Regions from separate parts of the Homo sapiens genome. Here region 2 is linked to region 1. Evidence: promoter capture Hi-C in 16 types of primary human blood cells and fetal thymus (Javierre and others, 2016). All regions are on one chromosome and are shown on one strand. The core of a region is centred on a gene start or on the middle of the fragment in contact, and the rest is flanking DNA. Distances in the headings are between cores, read along the strand shown. Region 1 holds the start of LRIG2 (leucine rich repeats and immunoglobulin like domains 2). Region 2 has its middle 12 kb from the start of TAFA3.

Region 1 (6,492 bases), core at 127-2,626:
TGCTGCTCAGTTAGTGACGAGAAATAACTGTATGTTAGTGGTTAAGAAGCCCCATAATTGCAGCATTTAATACCTGCTGTTGTTCCTAATACCACCAGGCTGACTCAGACTAAGGAGCCCTCCAAGTTCCACTGTCTAATAAAGACCTGTCAAAGTGAAAACTCAACAGTGGAAACTCCAGAATTCATTCAACCGTTGTACCTGCTTTACCTACATAAATAAGCAGAACTGATTTTTGGGTTCTTTGCCACAAGAAGATGCGCTGAAAACAAAGCATCAAATGGTTCTGCAAAAAATACTCCTCCTCTTTACAGTGAAGTTTAAATTAGATCAAGAATGCTACTTACAAAGATATTCTGAATTACAGGATCTCCTGATTCATCATAATGAACTTTTCAACCCTGTTAAGTATCAAAACTGCAGCACAAAATCAGCCAACATGCGAACTAAGGACTAAAGACAGTTCATAGGTCTTTGGCGATTGTGATTATAAAATCACGTGCCTGAGGACCACTAAGTCTGAGGTACACACCAAATCATGCAGCTCAAGATAAGCAGAAAGCACTGTTCCGTGCTCAACCCACCCCCCGCCCCACCAACCATCCAAAGTCAATGCTGGTGCCCAGGACCCGTGAGTCCTTACCATTAAATATGCCCGCCCCATTTCCTCCCCAGTTGAGGAAATCACAGACTCCTTGGCCCCAAGAATCTTAACCCTCGTCTTCATACAATTCTCCAGAAACCTTAACACCGGCTTTTTTAGGCTCCCACCACCTAAAACAAAGTTCATAAAATCCTGACGGCAGTTTCCTTCAGAGCTTAGGCTCTCGACCACACCCTCCGACCAGGCCTGTCTCCCTCCTGCCTGCCCCCTGTAGAGGGAAGGCTCCCCCTCCTTTTGGTCACTCTGCCTGGCCGCTCTACTCACAGGATAGCGGTGTCGGGGGGCAGCAAGCCCGACAGCGCCCTCCAGCTCGGTGCGGGCAATTTCCTGCGACTGCAGTCCAGGAGAGGAATGCGGCAGGAGCAGGGCGCGGGGCAGAGACCTGCTCCGGCGGCGGGCAACAGGAGGAGAGCGGTCTGGGCAATGAAGAGTAACCGAGAAAGCACTCTAGATCGACACCCCAGCAACTGCTCCTCCGGGACGCCTAGGGGCGCCGGCGCCATTTTCCCCCTCGACCTGGACGTGGCCTAGAAGAGCTGCCTGCTAGAAAAGGAGGATCGGCGGAGAAGCTCAGCAGAGATGCTCGGTGGCTGCACTGTCTCCCGAAGCCCCGGCTGAAGGCTGTACCATCTAAAGGCATGCAAGGAGCAGACGCAGCGCGACAGCGGGGTCGACGGCCTGGGACACACGGCCTGACGGACACCTCTCGTCCGCCCCTCCCCACGGCGCAACGTCCTCACGCACAGGGGCCAGCCAATCGGTGCCATAAGATGAGGTTGCGCCCGGGGCGGAACTCAGTGAGGGGCGGGGCCAGACGCAGCCGAGTATCTTGAGGAGAAGGACTTTAAAGCGTTCAGGGATTTTAGCTGCCGCTGTGGAGTTCCGCCGCTGTTCTTCCGCTGGAGGGCGCAGTAGTTCCTTAAGAGGGAATGGTGCGGCGAATAGCTGTGAGTTCAAAGTCCTGACTACAGGTATATCTACTGTAGTAGAAAAGGATCTTTTATTTGCTCTGGGCTTTAAGAAAGGGGAGTGGCAGAAGGGCTGCCTTCCAAGTCGCACACACGAATGGGTCACGGGAGCTTCTATCCTGGCTTTGGCCAGATCGGCCTCCAGAGCCGAGCTCGAGCCTCTTCTGCCCCCTGCTGCTTGGCTGTAGCCCCTGCTCTTCTGCAAGTAGGCGGCAACTGCCATTTGCATAAGATCAATATCACTCTCTGTTAATGGCCTTGTAAGCTCCTGAAGGCAGAGGCCCTGTTTCTTCATCGGTGCACCTCCACCTTTTGTTCTAGCTTGGAGTTCAATAAATTTTGGTGGGACTGCACCTGCATGTCTATATAAAGGAAATACCCTTCTCTTTGGAGGGATGCTGTCAAGGTCACTCTCAGAAAAGCAAGCGAGACAAGAGGGTGTTGAGCAGTCAACAAAGCAAAGACTGGATGTGAGGAAATTTATTTCTCCTAAAGCAGAGGCTATGGAAAACTTACTAGGAACAGTGAAGTCTGGCCATCTTATGCTCATTCAGCCATCCAAGGTTGTAAATAAGACTTTGAGAATAATAGTGATGGTTCACTTATACGTAGTGAACTTTTCAAAGGGCGTTTGCATCTGTTATCTTGTTTGCTCCTTCAGTGACTGTGACATTGGCAAGACAATTATTGCTGATGATGCAACAAGCCCCAAGAGGTTAAACCAAGTTACTCTTGAGGCAGGGGCAGGTTCGACATTAACATGGGTTTTCTGACATAAATTGAAAATCTGAGCAGGTTAAAAAGAATGATAATGCCTAGGTTAGGGTTCTCATAGAAAGTAACTGAAAGCAATCTTTCCCATGGCAGATTATGGAGTCATAATTATGTTTTTAAAAACCTTTTTCTGTTTTTTTTTTTTAATATTGAAGTATATATTGGAAACAAGGCCATATCCAATGCTACAGTCCAAACCAAACTTTTAAAGCCAAGACAGCGGAATGAAACTTACTCTTAGCCTTCTTCCCTTAGCTGTTGAGCAGACTTAACAAACTCTGGTAAGAAATCCGGCATAGGCAGGAACCTTACAAAAAAAAAAAGGAGGCAGTTTAGTTCCTTTCTACATTATAGTTTCAGAGCTTTCCTATGAAACTATACCAAATGGGGCCATTAGAAATTAATGCTCTCTAACCTGTATCCTCCGCAGTAAGTGGCTCACTGCAATCTCTGCCTGCCGTATTCAAGCGATTCTCCTGCCTCAGCCTGCCTAGTAGCTGGGACTACAGGTGTGCACCACCATGCCCGGCTAATTTTTGTATTTTTAGTAGAGACGGGGTTTTGCCTTTTTGGCCAGGCTGGTCTCGAACTCCTGACCTCAGGTGATCCACCCACCTCGGGCTCTCAAAGTGCTGGGATTACAGGCATGAGCCACTGTGACTGGCCACAAATACACGTTTTTTTTGTTTTTTTTGTTTTTTTTGTTTTTTTTTTGAGACAAAATTTCATTATTGTTGCCCAGGCTGGAGTGCAATGGCACAATCTCGGCTCACCGCAACCTCCGCCTCCTGGATTCAAGCGATTCTCCTGCCTCAGCCTCCTGAGTAGCTGGGATTACAGTCATGCGCCACCACGCCCAGCTAATTTTGTAGTTTTAGTAGAGATGGGGTTTCTCCATGTTGGTCAGGCTGGTCTCGAACTCCCAACCTTAGGTGATCCGCCCGCCTCGGCCTCCCAGAGTGCTGGGATTTCAAGCATGAGCCACCACACCCAGCCGCAAATATGTGTTTTTTTTTTTTTTTTTTAATTTATTTTTTTATTGATAATTCTTGGGTGTTTCTCACAGAGGGGGATTTGGCAGGGTCATGGGACAATAGTGGAGGGAAGGTCAGCAGATAAACAAGTGAACAAAGGTCTCTGGTTTTCCTAGGCAGAGGACCCTGCGGCCTTCCGCAGTGTTTGTGTCCCTGGGTACTTGAGATTAGGGAGTGGTGATGACTCTTAACGAGCATGCTGCCTTCAAGCATCTGTTTAACAAAGCACATCTTGCACCGCCCTTAATCCATTTAACCCTGAGTGGACACAGCACATGTTTCAGAGAGCACAGGGTTGGGGGTAAGGTCACAGATCAACAGGATCCCAAGGCAGAGGAATTTTTCTTAGTGCAGAACAAAATGAAAAGTCTCCCATGTCTACTTCTTTCTACACAGACACGGCAACCATCCGATTTCTCAATCTTTTCCCCACCTTTCCCGCCTTTCTATTCCACAAAGCCGCCATTGTCATCCTGGCCCGTTCTCAATGAGCTGTTGGGCACACCTCCCAGACGGGGTGGTGGCCGGGCAGAGGGGCTCCTCACTTCCCAGTAGGGGCGGCCGGGCAGAGGCGCCCCTCACCTCCCGGACGGGGCGGCTGGCCGGGCAGGGGGGCTGACCCCCCCCACCTCCCTCCCGGACGGGGCGGCTGGCCGGGCGGGGGGCTGACCCCCCAACCTCCCTCCCGGACGGGGCGGCTGGCCGGGCGGGGGGCTGACCCCCCCACCTCCCTCCCGGACGGGGCGGCTGGCCGGGCAGAGGCGCCCCTCACCTCCCGGACGGGGCGGCTGGCCGGGCAGGGGGGCCGACCCCCCCCACCTCCCTCCCGGACGGGGCGGCTGGCCGGGCGGGGGGCCGACCCCCCCACCTCCCTCCCGGACGGGGCGGCTGGCCGGGCAGAGGGGCTCCTCACTTCCCAGTAGGGGCGGCCGGGCAGAGGCGCCCCTCACCTCCCGGACAGGGCGGCTGGCTGGGCGGGGGGGCTGACCCCCCCCACCTCCCTCCCGGACGGGGCGGCTGGCCGGGCGGGGGGCCGACCCCCCCACCTCCCTCCCGGACGGGGCGGCTGGCCGGGCGGGGGGCCGACCCCCCCACCTCCCTCCCGGACGGGGCGGCTGGCCGGGCAGAGGGGCTCCTCACTTCCCAGTAGGGGCGGCCGGGCAGAGGCGCCCCTCACCTCCCAGACGGGGCGGCTGGCCGGGCGGAGGGCTGACCCCCCCACCTCCCTCCCGGACATGGCGGCTGGCCGGGCGGGGGGCTGACCCCCCCCACCTCCCTCCCGGACGGGGCGGCTGGCCGGGCAGAGGGGCTCCTCACTTCCCAGTAGGGGCGGCTGGGCAGAGGCGCCCCTCACCTCCCAGACGGGGCGGCTGGCTGGGCGGAGGGCTGACCCCCCCACCTCCCTCCCGGACGGGGCGGCTGGCCAGGCGGGGGGCTGACCCCCCTACCTCCCTACCGGACGGGGCGGCTGGCCGGGTGGGGGGGCTGACCCCCCCATCTCCCTCCCGGACGGGTTGGCTGGCTGGGCTGAGGAGCTCCTCACTTCCCAGTAGGGGCGGCCGGGCAGAGGCGCCCCTCACCTCCCGGACGGGGCAGCTGGCCGGGCGGGGGGCTGACCCCCCCACCTCCCTCCCGGATGGCACGGCTGGCCAGGCGGGGGGCTGACCCCCCCACCTCCCTCCCGGATGGCACGGCTGGCCGGGCGTGGGGGCTGACCCCCCACCTCCCTCCCGGATGGGGCGGCTGGCCGGGCGGGGGGCTGACCCCCCCCCACCTCCTTCCCGGACGGGGTGGCTGCCGGGCGGAGACGCTCCTCACTTCCCAGATGGGGTGGCTGCCGGGCGGAGAGGCTCCTCACTTCTCAGACGGGGCAGCTGCCGGGTGGAGGGGCTCCTCACTTCTCAGACGGGGTGGTTGCCAGGCAGAGGGTCTCCTCACTTCTCAGACGGGGCGGCCGGGCAGAGACGCTCCTCACCTCCCAGACGGGGTCTCGGCCGGGCAGAGGCGCTCCTCACATCCCAGATGGGGCGGCGGGGCAGAGGCGCTCCCCACATCTCAGACGATGGGCGGCCGGGCAGAGACGCTCCTCACTTCCTAGATGTGATGGCGGCTGGGAAGAGGCGCTCCTCACTTCCTAGATGGGATGGCGGCCGGGCGGAGACGCTCCTCACTTTCCAGACTGGGCAGCCAGGCAGAGGGGCTCCTCACATCCCAGACGATGGGCGGCCAGGCAGAGACACTCCTCACTTCCCAGACGGGGTGGCAGCCGGGCAGAGGCTGCAATCTCGGCACTTTGGGAGGCCAAGGCAGGCGGCTGCTCCTTGCCCTCGGGCCCCGCGGGGCCCGTCCGCTCCTCCAGCCGCTGCCTCCCGGGCGGCGCTCGCCGGCGCCGACTCCCATAATTTACTTTTTCTAGCGCAAATATGTGTTTTTAACAGAATTTAATGATTCATTTCTGATTAACAATGGAATATAGAGCTTTTATATTCATTGCCCTAAATTGTCTAATTAATTCGTGGGTGCTAAAGTACCTGGGCTGAGATTTTAGAGTTCAGTGGAATCCATAAGCACAGAATACCCCAGCTCCAGATTACTTAAAAAAAAAAAAACTACTCACTTGATATCCCTTGTTCCACACCTTAACATAAACCCCAATCCCTTACAATTTAGCTGCCCTATATCTCCTTACCTCGGGACTTTACTCTTTGCAAAGTCATAGCTAACTAACCTGATCAATTCTATTCTTTCAAACTAGAAGTCTCAGGATTGCCTGTGCTTTCCCCCCATTCTTTCCTGTCACATCTAATCACTAGACTCTCTTGATTCCCCCTCAGGAATGTCTCACATCTTTCCCCAGCTCTCCATCCCCACTGCTACTTAGTTCAGACCTTCATCTCATATGACTACTATTTCAATAACCTTTGCACCCATCTCCTGTCCTCCAGTCTCTCCTGTCTCCAAGTCTCTAAGCTGTCACTAGAATTATCTTTCCAAAGCATAATGTTACAGATATGTTTTCTCATTTTATATCTCCATTGCTAAGAGCAGTGTC
Region 2 (6,103 bases), core at 2,061-4,560, 340 kb after region 1:
CTTTTGCAAGTCTAGCATTTTGATTTAGAATGTGGGAGGAGTTTAGTATAGTTGATAGTCAATTTTATTTTACCTGATCTTTAGGGCCTCTGTCCGAATTTTGAGATGGGAAGAGTCCCATTTAATATATGTTTGACACATGGTAGAGTTTCACTAATAGAAGCTACGGTGTATCGCCAATCACCCAGCCTTGTGGTCAATCTAGCCTTTTAAAAATGGCTGGAATCCACTTCCTCTAGACCAGACTGAAGGGGAGTTTGTACCCTCATGTATGGTTTGAAAGGTAGTTGCTTGGTCCTCCTTATGCCCAGTCTACATATCTATTTTAAATAGAGTGTTTAGAGCCATATGAGCCCAGTAGCTGCTGTGCCCATGCACATGCCTAGACTCACGCTTGATGACAAATCACAAGTCCCAGGAAATCAGAAACCATCTTAGCTGCTCACATTGTGGGGAAGAGGGAAGTGAGCCTTCCTCTGTTCTGGAGTCCATCTCAGCCATAGCAGGAGGAGTGGGAATGTGCAGTTGTGTGCTGGGTTGTGTGCTGCCAGTGTGCCCTGGGCTGGCACCTGTCTTGATGAGTCAGTCTCTGTGCTAAACTGGTTTTTATGTATTGTGAATATTGTCCTTGCTTGTAGGCATGGAGATACTCAAATCCACAGACACACAGAAACACCAGCAGCAAGTCCGGTCTCAGTGGCTCACGCCTGTAATCCCAGCACTTTGGGAGGCCTAGACGGGCGGATCACGAGGTCAGGAGATCGAGACCATCCTGGCTAACACGGTGAAACCCCGTCTCTACTAAAAATACAAAAAAAAAATTAGCCGGGCGCGGTGGTGGGCGCCTGTAGTCCCAGCTACTCGGGAGGCTGAGGCAGGAGAATGGCATGAACCCAGGAGGCGGAGCTTGCAGTGAGCTGAGATAGCGCCACTGCACTCCAGCCTGGGCAATAGAGCGAGACTCCGTCTCAAAAAAAAAAAAAGAAACACCAGCAGCATACATGCACACACAATTACATCTTCACACATGGGTGCACATGCAGTTATTTTCCTTAAGCTTAAAAGCAGAAGTTACATGAACCTGGAAAATATGAACTGAACTGATCTAGGGTGTGACAGCATATTAGGGAAGCATCTGTCCTGAAGTCTTTCTCTTGGCTTCTTAGTCTTTACGTCTTCATTTCTTTGCTTGTTAGATATCACAGGTGGCACTGGAAGGGATTAAAGCAGGCAGAGGCACAGCCTCAAATATATATATGTATATATATCCCTAAACTCAGGAAAACAATGCAGAGTCATCATTTCCAGATTGCAAAAGTATGTTGAGAAAGATTCAACTAAAACACCAAGGCATCAGTTGGCAAAATTTTTGTACAAAGGCTCAGATAATGGGCTGGGCGTGGTGGCTCATGCCTGTAATCCCAGCACTTTGGGAGGCCAAGGCAGGTGGATCACCTGAGGTCAGGAGTTCGAGACTAGCCTGACCAATATGATGAAACCCCATCTCTACTAAAAATACAAAAATTAGCCAGGTGTGGTAGCGTGTACCTGTAATCCCTGCTACTTGGGAGGCTGAGACAGGAGAATCGCTTGAACCCGGGAGGCGGAGGTTGCAGTGAGCCAAGATTGCACCACTGCACTCCAGCCTGGGCAACAAGAGCAAAACTCTATCTCAAAAACAAAAAACAAAGGATTAGATAAATATTTTAGACTTTGTGATCCATATGGGCTCTTCAAAATGACTCAACTCTGCTGTTTAGTATAAAAATAGTCAGACAGGAAGACACAAATAAGCATAGTTAAGTTCCAATAAAACTTTATTTACAAAAAGGCAGCAGGCCAGATTTAGCCCATGGGCTTTAGTATGCAGCCTGAAGAACCCAGAAGCCATCCAAGTGGCTTCGCTGATCTCTCTAAGGTTAACAGGGGCTCCATTCTGTCTCCTTGAGAAAGGATAAAAATCAATTGTTTTGGATGTGGCATCAGTTCTGTTCTTATTATTTTGTGCTGTGCATTGTGTTCTTCTGAATGAGTGATCTCAATCCCTCTTTTTTGTTCCTCCTGCCCTCCTTCTGTGTATATATCTCTCCATGTTTCCCATTCTTCATTCTGTTCCCTTGCACTCGCAAGGTTGATTGACTTTAGAATGGGACACTTTCACATTCATCCTTGTTAAAATCCCAGCTTCTTTTCAGGTTCCTCATCTAAACTTGATGTGTAGTAGTAGAAAGAACACCGTCTGGATCACTGGACAGGACACATCAACAGCTTGCTATGTGACAAATCACCTAGCCTCTCTGAGCCTCCCTTTTCTGTCAAATGAGGGAGTTGGCTAACTGGTCTCTAAAATCCCTTGCAAGCTGGGTGTGGTGCCTCACACCTGTAATCGCAGCACTTTGGGAGGCTGAGGCAGGAGGATTGCTCGAGGCCGGACGTTCAAGACAAGACCAGTCTGGGCAACATAGGAAGACCCTGTCTCTATTCTACAAAAAAAAAAAAAAGGATGTGGCAGCACATGCCATTAGTGCCAGCTACTCAGGAAGCTGAGGTGAGAGGATTGCTTGAGCCCAAGAGGCCAAGGCTGCAGTAAGCCATGATTATGCCACTGTACTCCAGCCTGGGCAACAGAGGGAGACACTGTCTCAAAAAAAAAAAAAAAAAAAAAAAAAAAAAAAAAAAAGAAAGAAAGAAAACATTAAAATCCCTTCTAGCTGTAAGCTTGTGATTTTAGGAAGTTGCAGCCTCAATCCAGGCAACTGTCTGGGGACCGTTAATTAGGATGTCACTCATAGGCCTCAATGAAACTGCTAGGATGCCAACAGAAGTTAGCCACATGATCTCCTGTGGTTGGTAACCTTCCTAAGGCCTTCACAGCTGAGGACAGTGTGGGTACCAGCTAACTTCAGGGACTGAGATTCCAATCCAGTAAGGGGAGAAGAGGAAGATAAATGACTCCAGGAACCCTATGTTCCAGGAAAATTAATTTGCATTTTTAAACTGTAGCTAAAAAACGCACATAAATATTGATTCAGTTGGAAACAGGACCCTAGGATGCTATTGTGGGGGAGGTGGGACACTTTCCCTTCTCCATCAGACCCTCCTATGTAGGGGTCTTCTGGCTATATAAAAGATACCCCTCAAGGCCCACCAAAAAAATATATGAAAAGGTAAGGAGGAAATGAAGGCTTGAGGAGTTAAAAAAAATGAATTAGGAGTTAGCAAATTCCAGCATGTGTCAAAGGAAAGAGGTCTTCTCTGTAGCAGGGGTGAGGGAGGTCAGGGAAGGTTGCAGAACCCAGACTTTGGCTGAGGCAGAGGCTGGCAGTGGTTGGCAACTCAGGAGAGAGTTTGTATAGCATGATCCCTGCTCTCAGGCTCAATCCCCAGCTCAGAGCCCACCAGCTTGTGGATGCAGCAGATGGGCAGGGGGCTCGAGCCCTCTCCCTCCTTCCTGGACACAGTCTTGAGGGTGCAGAATGACTGGAGAAAAGCCCCTATTCTGGCCTCCAGGAGAACAGGCTGTTATTGTCTGACTCTGCTAAAGCTGTCTCATTTGTAGCCTAAATAATTCACTCACCAATCTCTCAAGAAGCATTAGGAGAAAAACAAAACCTGACCCAGCCCTCATGCTCAGGTTCCCATTGCACAGAAGTCAGGCAAGGAGGCTGGGAGGCAGTCCCACACTGCAGAGATGGCCTGCCTTCAAAGGTTCATCAGATTGGCATCCTTCTGAAACAGACCCAGATTCTGTTTCTATACAGCTAAGACTTGAGCTATTAATAAGACTAGCTTTTGTATATTAAAGATATTTTAAAACAAAATGAAACAAACAAACAAACAAAAAATCAACAATAAAAACAAAGAGTATGCAACAGAGACTGTATGTGAGCTGCCAAGCTTGAAATATTTACTATCTGGCCTTTTCCAGAAAATGTTTGCCAATCCCTTAATCCATCCCCACCCTCCATCCTCCAACCTTAAAGGAGGTAATGACGATCTTCTTCTTTTTTTTTTTCTGTCTAGCCACTATTTTATTTTATTTATTTATTTATTTATTTTAGTATTTATTGATCATTCTTGGGTGTTTCTCGGAGAGGGGGATGTGGCAGGGTCATAGGAAAATAGTGGAGAGAAGGTCAGCAGATAAACATGTGAACAAAGGTCTCTGGTTTTCCTAGGCAGAGGTCCCTGCGGCTTTCCTTCTGCAGTGTTTGTGTCCCTGGGTACTTAAGATTAGGGAGTTGTGATGACTCTTAAAAGAGCATGCTGCCTTCAAGCATCTGTTTAACAAAGCACATCTTGCACCGCCCTTAATCCATTTAACCCTGAGTTGACACAGCACATGTTTCAGAGAGCACAGGGTTGGGGGTAAGGTTATAGATTAACAGCATCCCAAGGCAGAAGAATTTTACTTAGTACAGAACAAAATGGAGTCTCCTATGTCTACTTCTTTCTACACAGACACAGTAACAATCTGACCTCTCTTTCTTTTCCCAACATTTCCCCCTTTTCTTTTCGACAAAACCGCCATCGTCATCATGGCCTGTTCTCGATGGTCACTGTCTCTTCGGAGCTGTTGGGTACACCTGCAGAAAGGCTGTCACTTCACACTTGGAAGATTGCACAGCGGCCAGGCAGAGGCGCTCCTCACTTCCTAGACGGGGCGGCGGCCGGGCAGAGGCGCTCCTCACTTCCCAGATGGGGTGGCGGCCAGGCAGAGGCTGTAATCTTAGCACTTTGGGAGGCCAAGCCAGGCGGCTGGGAGGTGAAGGTTGTAGCGAGCCGAGATCACGCCACTGCACTCCAGCCTGGGCAACATTGAGCACTGAGTGAGCGAGACTCCGTCTGCAATCCCAGCACCTCGGGAGGCCAAGGCGGGCAGATCACTCGAGGTCAGGAGCTGGAGACTAGCCCAGTCAACACGGCGAAACCCCGTCTCCACCAAAAATACAAAAACCAGTCAGGTGTGGCGGCGCGTGCCTGCAATCCCAGGCACTCGGCAGGCCAATCACGGGAGTCCGAGGCAGGGAGGTTGCAGCGAGCTGAGATCATGGCAGGAGAGGGAAGAGGGAAGAGGGAAGAGGGGAGAGGGGAGAGGGGAGAGGGGAGAGGGGAGAGGGGAGAGGGGAGAGGGGACGATCTTTGACCAACTCCCTACCTACCCCACCCCATGAGCCCACCATCGGCAGAGATTCTGAGTTGTGAGTTCTGATATTTACACTCTAGTAAGAAGCTGGCACCATTGTTCACCCCATTGTCAAAAACAAGAAAATAAACTGGAGTAGGGCAAGAAAAGGGGAATATCAGTCTTGGTTCTACTGAGCAGGGAGGGAGGGAGAAGCTGAGACTCAGCCACAAACTATCATCTGATTTGTCTTTCTGAGGGTCAGAATTCAGCATCGTCCAGGTGGGTCTCTACTGACACCCCCCTCCCTAAGGCCTTGGTGATCTCAACACCCACAGTCTCAGAGGCTGCAATTCTCTTACTGATGAGATATCTAAGTAGCCCATGCCTCTGAGTCCCTGAAGCCTATGTGTCATCCCTGAGCCATCTAGTGTCAGCCTGACTGCACTGACCTTTAATTCTAAACGGAGGCTCTAGCCTTCCACCCCTGCTGCCCAGCAGGGGCCTTTGAAAAGAGAAGACTCTAACCAGTTCTACATCCCACCCAGAATTTCTCCTGGAGCCAGACCTTCTGAGAATCATAGCCCAAAGACCCCAGAAGAGATGGGTCAGAGTGGGCAATGGAGATGCCAGCTGAGCCCCAGCTGTAACTGAGTTGAGTGACCTCTGGGTGTCATAAGGCCTGCTTGAAATTTGGAGGATGAGAGTAGAGTGGAGACCAGATGGTCCCACATCCCGGTGTGTGGATATTCTGGATTATTTCAGACAGGAGAACAGTGACCTTAGTAAAAGTCTCTGCTCTAGCATCTCCCAAGAAAAATGTTGCTGCTGTCCAGCCTGTACTTTGCTGGTTCCAGTAACTTGACATAAAATTAACATGGGAGGCCTACGTTGGAATCCTATTATTCAGGCTAGTGGAAAGTCATCAGTCTTAGAGGTCTGGGAGCCCAGGCTATGAGATCTTGGGCAAACTGCCTC

The links. The method cuts DNA at HindIII sites, captures the fragments that hold promoters and counts their contacts. A CHiCAGO score of 5 or more calls a contact.
Region 2: a fragment that was not itself captured here is called in contact with the fragment with the promoter of LRIG2 in region 1 in 2 of 17 cell types (activated CD4 T cells and neutrophils); the score reaches 5.5 in activated CD4 T cells.

The regions. Positions count from the first base shown.
Region 1 is chr1:113,068,082-113,074,573 of GRCh38, reverse strand. LRIG2 (leucine rich repeats and immunoglobulin like domains 2) reads right to left here and starts at 1,376. Exons shown (of 18, transcript NM_014813.3): 1 at 929-1,376. The coding sequence starts at 1,167. It overlaps LRIG2-DT (LRIG2 divergent transcript), which reads left to right and starts at 1,472. Exons shown (of 3, transcript NR_103777.1): 1 at 1,472-1,635. RefSeq lists enhancers at 207-256, 856-915, 532-1,063, 1,096-1,405, 1,064-1,597 and 1 more. The HindIII fragment of the contact is 20,110 bases long and covers 1-6,492 here.
Region 2 is chr1:112,727,366-112,733,468 of GRCh38, reverse strand. No RefSeq gene overlaps it. Among named protein-coding and RNA genes, the nearest start is that of TAFA3, 12 kb to the right of the region's middle. The HindIII fragment of the contact is 1,179 bases long and covers 2,721-3,899 here.